2 separate regions of the Homo sapiens genome follow, and region 1 is linked to region 2. The links are contacts of gene promoters, found by promoter capture Hi-C in human tissues and cell types (Jung and others, 2019). All regions are on one chromosome and are shown on one strand. Each heading gives the region's core, a stretch centred on a gene start or on the middle of the fragment in contact. The rest is flanking DNA. Distances are from core to core; before and after follow the strand shown.

Region 1 (3,943 bases), core at 888-3,387, 210 kb before region 2:
AACTAAACAAAGGGGGAACAAAGGATATTACTTTTATTTTTAAAACAGTAGGTTTTTAAATAATACAAGAAAAGGCATAACCATCTGTTAATACATCAAGCTTGTCCATGTGGTCCAGGATGGCTTTGAATGCTGCCCAACACCAATCCGTAAACTTAGAATGGCGATCATTAAAAAGTCAGGAAACAACAGGTGCTGGAGAGATTGTGGAGAAATAGGAACACTTTTACACTGTTGATGGGACTGTAAACTAGTTCAACCATTGTGGAAGACAGTGTGGCGATTCCTCAAGGATCTAGAACTAGAAAATACCATTTGACCCAGCCATCCCATGACTGGGTATATACCCAAAGGATTATAAATCATGCTGCTATAAAGACACATTCACATGTATGTTTATTGCGGCACTATTCTCAATAGCAAAGACTTGGAACCAACCCAAATGTCCATCAATGTAGACTGGATTAAGAAAATGTGGCACATATACACCATGAAATACTATGCAGCCATAAAAAAGGATGAGTTCATGTCCTTTGTAGGGACATGGATGAAATTGGAAATCATCATTCTCAGTAAACTATCACAAGAACAAAAAACCAAACACCGCATGTTCTCACTCACAGGTAGGAATTGAACAATGAGAACACTTGGACACAGGAAGGGGAACATCACACACCGGGGCCTGTCGTGGGGTGGGGGGATGGGGGAGGGATAGCATTAGGAGATATACCTAATGTAAATGACGAGTTAATGGGTACAGGACACCAACATGGCACATGTATACATATGTAACAAACCTGCATGTTGTGCACATGTACCCTGGAACTTAAAGTATAATAATAAAAAAAAAAGATATAAATGTTGGCAAGAATGTGGAAAAATGGGGAACCCTTGCCCACTGTTGATGGGAAAGTAAGTATAACTATAATGGAAAATAGTATGGAGATTCCTCAAAAATTTAAAAATAGAACTATTACAAGACTCAGCAATCTCACTGAAGGTATATATCCAAAGAAAATAAAATCAATATGTCAAAGAGGAAAAAAAATATGAGATTTTCTTGCAATTTTTTTTTTAGCTGATCAGTTATCATTAGTGTCAGTGTACTTTACGTATGGCCCAAAACAATTCTTCCAGTATGGCCCAGGGAAACCAAATATTGGACACCCCTGAGCTACATTGTAGAGCTATTGTTCACAAGCCCAACCATATGCTACAACTACCTGGGGGGCTTCAAAAAAATTCTTATGTCTGGTTCTTAACCCAGACATGTCAAGTCTGAGCCTCTAAGAGTGGGGCCCAAGTGGAGGTACTGGTTTCAAACTCCCTTCAGTTGATTCTAACGTCCAGTCAAGGCTGAGTACTGAGTGGAAAAGGAGTGGACTCAGGATCACACAGGTTAAGGGAGAAAAGCTTTGGAGAAGGCCATGATCACAAGCTGATCATGTAGCAGTCTTACTTCTTCTACCAAGATTCCGCAGGCACAACAAAAGAAAAGAGAAGCTGGGCATGGTGGTGGGCACCTATATCCCCAGCTACATAGGAGGCTGAAGTGGGAGGATTACAAGAGCCCAGGAGTTTGAGGCTGCAGTGAGCTATGATCACGCCAATGCACTGCAGCCTAGATGACAGAGTGAGATCCTATCTCCCTAAAAAATAAAAAGAGAAAAAGTCCCAGAAATTAAGAAAAAACCCAGAACACTAGGGGAAATTACAGGATGTTCTCTGAACAGATTCTAACCTGTAACCAGTACTTGAAAGTTACCTCAATATTATTGCTGTTGGGGGCTGCCTCTATGGTAAAAACAGTGTTAAGAAGTGAAAAGGGGAAACATATCTAAATGTAGTATATGTATTTGCTCACTTATTAAGATTGGTTTTTCTTCTGTGGAAGAATGATTGTTTCATGACTATTTCCATGAACTTTCTTTCTGGCTATGCATTCATTCTTTTTACACACATTTTGAATTAAGATATATGAAATAAGCAGAAGATGTTTAGTCAAACCATAATAGAAGCTTTGAATTGTTTTTCGTTTACTGACCTTTCCATTTCAGCACCCATTTCTGGGCTGTTTGTCGGGGGTGGGATTATGACAAAGATACAGTCCTGGGCAAGATGAATGAGGTCACTATTTACTAAGCCTTGGAAATAGGCCAGAAACATTGTAAATAAATAAATGTAGTTAACCTTAACAAAAATGAAAATACTTATTCCTACAAGATATTAATCAATTTCACCACAATTTCCTCTGAGTGATCGCATCCTGTGTGTCTAAGAACCCTTGAGTGCTGATGTTGAGAGTCATCTTTCAGTATCTAAGAGTGGATTAACTAACAACTGTATAGGAGATATTTGAAAATTAATGAATCAGAAATTTTATCTATATATTAGAAGGCAACTATTGTTTGGAACCACATTGTAACAGATATGAGATTACATCTAGTGGCATTTTGACCCCCACCCCACCAATTTCCCACTTACACACCTGCCATATGTTTTTCTATTTGGAATCTCTTCTGCTCACGGGTGAATGAACCACATCACTGGCTTCCTGGGAAAGCTCTTCCTACATTTATTCTTAAGTAAACATCTCTTTCTTGTGGCTTCTGGAGGGCTAATTGTTCTCCTATTTCTAAGAATCATTATTTTTAGCCTAGAACAAGAAGAAGGGAAGGGCATGAGCCACACTGGAAATAAAGTCCCAGGACTTTGGTGAGACTACATGGGACACATCTTAAAATAGCCTAATGATTTAGTGGCCCTTTTCCCAGAGAGCTGAGAGGCACTCATGTGGAGAGAAAGAAGTTTCAGGGAAGTGATGTTAGTAAGTGAGAAAGTGAGTAGTTTGTGGTGTGTGTAAACCTCAGTGTGAGCCTGGGCAGTGATGACATTGTGATGTTACCTGATGGAGCTAAAACTAAAACAAGAAGGAGGCAATGCAGAATATTAAATAGATAAGAGTTCATAATGCAAGAGTTTGTCTAGTCTTCACTTAGAAATTTACAAAACAGTTCAGCTAAGAAACCGATAACAATACACTATTTTTGCACATAATTTTTTGGCCATTTTCATTAAGCTATTTACATGGTACATTGTGGTTCTAAACTATTGTCTTTTTAATCTTCTGGGTGGCTCTCTCTAGAATAATAGATTTGTTTCTAAATATTGGATGTAATCGTAATGAAAGTGTCTATTATACACGCCATATTATTTGTGACCCCCATCCTCTCCTGTCCTTAATTTTCTTCTTGCTCAATTGTCTTAACTGAGTGTTGACTATAAATTCATAAAAATTTTAGTATTTTCAGAGGGAACTTATTAACATGGCTATTGTAGTAAATAACAGGAACTTCATGTAGACTGAATCTACCATTTGTTATCTATTTTTGACAGTAAACAATTGATTTTAGTGAAAACTGAAAATTGTATTATAATGAAAATTAAAATGCCTTGTTTGTCATTCTCTTTTAATTTAAATTTTGTTGGTTTGGCATTAGGTAGCCACAATAACAACTCCCTATTTTAGACCTTACCTATCTCCCACACACAATTTTTTTTCTCCTACCATCTTCCCTCTGTTTTCCCCTTCTCTTTTCGTGTCATTTCTCTCTTCATCCCTTCCTTTCTCAAGTTAACACGGAGACCTTATGTGTCCACCTGGACTGTTCTTTACCAAGGTTTGGGCCACAGCAAGACTCCTTTCCAATTCTAATAGCAACCATTGCCAATCAACCCCAGCATTCTTTGTCCAGACCTAGTCTTAGTCCTCCTCCCTTCAGTCTAGTTCTCCAGGAAGCCATTACCAGTTAGTGGGGGTTGCCATTTATTCTATGTGTATGCTGTCGAGAAAAACATTCTCTGCATTTCACAGTAACAGTGTTCCTGACCATGAGAACCACTTAGGGCAGGGGTCCCCAATCCCTGGGCTGTGGATGGGTAC
Region 2 (3,822 bases), core at 1,213-3,712:
AAGGAAGGGCTGGTGCAATCAGTCAGAGGGCTTTCAAAGAAGGGCTCCAGCGCTGCGCTGTAGGCGTGCGGCGGAGGCTTAACGTGGAAGACATGGGAGCTGTCCATGGTACCGTAAGGCGGACTGGGCAGCCCAGGCGACTGGTAGGAGTAGGGGTGTACAGGGAAGGAAGCGCTGGCCGTCGGCAGGTGGGGGGGCATGTCCTGGTTCTGCTCAGGCAGAAAAGTCCGAGGATTGAGTTGCAGGCAGCCCGCAACCAGGTTGGTGGTGGGTTGGGATAAGCCCTTGCAAAGCGTCTGAACGAAGGAGACCAGGTCTGGGCTTTTGCCTGAGCGCAGGATCTCCGACAGAGCCCAGATGTAGTTCTTGGCCAAGCGCAGAGTCTCGATTTTGGACAGCTTCTGCGTCTTAGAATAGCAAGGCACCACCTTGCGCAGGTTGTCTAGCGCCGCGTTCAGTCCGTGCATGCGGTTCCGCTCCCGGGCGTTAGCCTTCATGCGTCTCAATTTAAAACGCTCCAGGCGAGCCTTAGTCATCTTCTTCTTTTTGGGGCCGCGTCTCTTGGGCTTTTGATCGTCATCCTCCTCTTCCTCTTCTTCCTCCTCTTCCAGGTCCTCATCTTCGTCCTCCTCCTCTCCCCCGTTCCTCAGTGAGTCCTCCTCTGCGTTCATGGTTTCGAGGTCGTCCTCCTTCTTGTCTGCCTCGTGCTCCTCGTCCTGAGAACTGAGACACTCGTCTGTCCAGCTTGGAGGACCTTGGGGCTGAGGCTCGCCCATCAGCCCACTCTCGCTGTACGATTTGGTCATGTTTCGATTTCCTACATTCAACAAGGGAGAGGCAAACAGAAAGAAAAGCAGAAAAACGCTATATTCAAAAGCCAGATACGCCTTCAGCTTCCACTCCCTAAACCTGTACAAATGCTTGCGAAAAGTACCTGCCCATTACAAAATGAATGCCTCTGAGAAAAAGTTAAATGCAGTGTTTTATAATGGCGCGTGCGTGTGCCCCGCTAGTACGTAGGAGTGAGGACAGGACTGGGGGAGGGTAGTGAATATGTATATGTGTACACCACTCACGCATATGTGTTTGTATCCTAGTGATTAACTTAAATGTGTTTATGGTGGTTGCCCGACAGGATAATGTGTGTGGAAATGACTGTACATTTCAGCGACTTCATGTTTATCCAAATGTGTTCAAAGTTACTCACAACTCCATAAAAAAAAAAAAAAGCTGTAAAATCACACATTCTACTTCCATTTCTGTCCTGGCTTCCAGATACTTAGCGATTTAAGTTGAACAGCCATTGCGTAATTTACTAATACTGGCAGCGATTTTTAAGAAGATTACATCGACGGGATACTGAAAAGCAAATGCAGAAAGGAGGAAAAATAGTTTCCACCAAATTGTTTCACCATCAATGTAACATTTGGCAACAAAAGTGGACAGGGTCTTCCACCCCTCCCTCGCCTTTCTTTTCTTGCCTTCCATCTCTGGCCCACCGCTAAATTTCCACCTTGTACAAAAGCGCTAGCTGCAGGGCGAGGGCTGGGGGCGCGGCGCAGAGCGCTCTCCCACGCGCCGGGGATCAGGTGCGGAAGGCTCCTCTCTAATAAACAGCCCATTGAAAGGGCCGCCCGCTCTTTATTGGGGCTTTTCAAAGTTCGCCTCAAACCTCCCTTTAAAAGATTGAGTAATTATAATGGTCAGCGATTGGCAACCGCGAAGTTGCCGCTTCTAGTAAGGAAAATAAAAAGCCTTTAGTAAAACAACTGAATTTCTGGCTCCAGTAGTGGCTGCTGGGGACTTGGCCGCCTCTGGAGCGGTAACAGGTAGCAGGAGTGAGTCCCTCTCCCTTTCTCCACTTTCCCCCCTCTCAACTAAACTATCTCTGAACCTGATTTATTTTCCATGGTGTGAATACTCAAGGTATCCATGTCCCTTTCATTCACTGAAAACACAGCTTGACACTCCCAATGTGCGTAAAATACATGCACACAAAATATATATTGATAACATAGATTTTTTTTTCTTACTGTAAGAAGTGAGAAAGTGAAGTCATTATTGCTTTTGGGACTTTAAAATCAGCACTAGCAGATAATCATAGTTACCGTGCATTCTTTTAAAAAATCCAAGAAGCTCCTATGCTATCCACAAAAGAAACCCAAATTTTTAAAATTTAAATTAGAAAGCCTGCAGGGGGTACTTGAGTGACACGACTCATTATGTGTGAGTACTTATGGGCAATTATGGAGGGGGATGCTGGTCTCAATACACATACACACTCTCGCAAACGCACACATACAGAATATGTAGGTTCATCAGTCTTCAGTTATTGCTTCTATTCTGGGGCAAAAAAATGAAAGAACTGTAATTACCTTTGTTGTTAGTAGGTCCTGAGCAGTGATAGTCTCATAACCCTGGGGCCTCCGGACGCCGCGCCTCCTGCGTGGGCGAATTCCTCGTGTCGTGGCCGCGCGGGCGCTCAGGTTATATAGCCCAGTTAGTGATGCTAAGCGCGGGCGGGGCCGCTAGCTGAGGGGCTAGCAGGTCTATGCGCCTGACGCCTGCGCACGCGTCCAGGCTGTGCGCTCCCCGTTCTCCCCTCCTCCCCACTTCTCCCCACGCCTTGCTCGTCTCCCGCCCTCCTCCGACAACCGCTCCCCTCACCCTCCACCCCTACCCCCGCCCCTCCTCCTTCCTCCCCGGCATGCGCCATATGGTCTTCCCGGTCCAGCCAAGAGCCTGGAACCACGTGACCTGCCCATTTGTATGCCGCGGAGCGCTCCATTCCGGCCCCTTTGTGGCCAGAAGAAAGTGGCCCATCTGTCGCCAGTTAGAGACTCCGCGGACCTGTTTTTACCCGCAGGAGAGATTAACCCTTTCAGGCGGCAGAAGGGACGGGGATAGAGGGGGGAGGGGATTTGAGGGAAGGAAGGGAAAAGCTAATGTTAACTAGGTCTAGATCAGAGCGAGTGGCCTGCTTTCGCGCCGGAAGTAGGACAGAGGTGAAAGAGGCAGAAGCGGGGAGACTGAGGCACGCAGTGAAGAGTCCTCGCTCCTTTCGATTTCTTGTCCTGACACTGGCATCCAGAGCAGCATGACTCCTTGCCCTCTCTGAAAGGCCCATCCCTTGGCTTCTTCTCCTTGGCAGACGCTTTGATCATTGGCGCCAAAGGATGGCTTCTCCTAATCTCCGTCGGCCCCTCTAAGCAAACATATACGCCATATAAAAGCGGCTTCATCTGTAAACGCAGCGTTGAGATTAGTTCCCCAACCTCCCTAACCGGATCGTCCTCTCCCAGTTCCTTCAGTACAGAAAAGTTGTACCTGCCATTCTATCCCTACCATACGTGCAATTCTTCATGTCCTGACCTTCAGCTACGACTGTTCCTCCAGACCCTCTCACTACGTCAGTCCCCACCTCCATCCCCAGGATCTTGTCCTCAAAGCGAGCTAGTTCTCGCGAGGAGGCCTTGGTTCCATTGGCCTTTGCGCTCTCTTATGTGGGAGCTGGGGACTTCTTTGACGGTTGTATTCTGCCTTTTAACCATGGCCACTGGGTTGCTGGAAAGGGCACCCTCACTCAGCCAGTCCAGGGACGCTTCTGGTTCCCTGGCCAGCCCGCCCTGGACGGCCTCGGCTCTCTAGTCCAGGCATTGACCACAAGTACGGTGGTGGACACCTCGCCACAGCCGGACCTGCGCTCTTGCTCCCCTCAGTCTCGGGTCTGTATAAGATACTTGATTCAGACAAGCGTTTTCAAAGAGAAGATGCAATGGGCCTGTGCTGAACGGGTCTTTCCGATCTCTTTCTAGAAACGCC

Evidence for each region. The method cuts DNA at HindIII sites, captures the fragments that hold promoters and counts their contacts. A contact is called where the count stands out against the background at its distance.
Region 1: a contact is called between a fragment that was not itself captured here and the fragment with the promoter of NEUROD1 in region 2, in 1 of the 25 tissues and cell types used here (lymphoblastoid cells).

Annotation. Positions count from the first base shown.
Region 1 is chr2:181,469,227-181,473,169 of GRCh38, forward strand. The region is part of intron 2 of ITGA4 (integrin subunit alpha 4); the gene reads left to right. Among named protein-coding and RNA genes, the nearest start is that of ITGA4, 14 kb to the left of the region's middle. The HindIII fragment of the contact is 5,063 bases long and covers 1-3,943 here.
Region 2 is chr2:181,678,055-181,681,876 of GRCh38, forward strand. It overlaps NEUROD1 (neuronal differentiation 1), which reads right to left and starts at 2,463. Exons shown (of 2, transcript NM_002500.5): 1 at 2,376-2,463; 2 at 1-817. The coding sequence starts at 806. RefSeq lists an enhancer at 3,113-3,689. The HindIII fragment of the contact is 10,799 bases long and covers 1-3,822 here.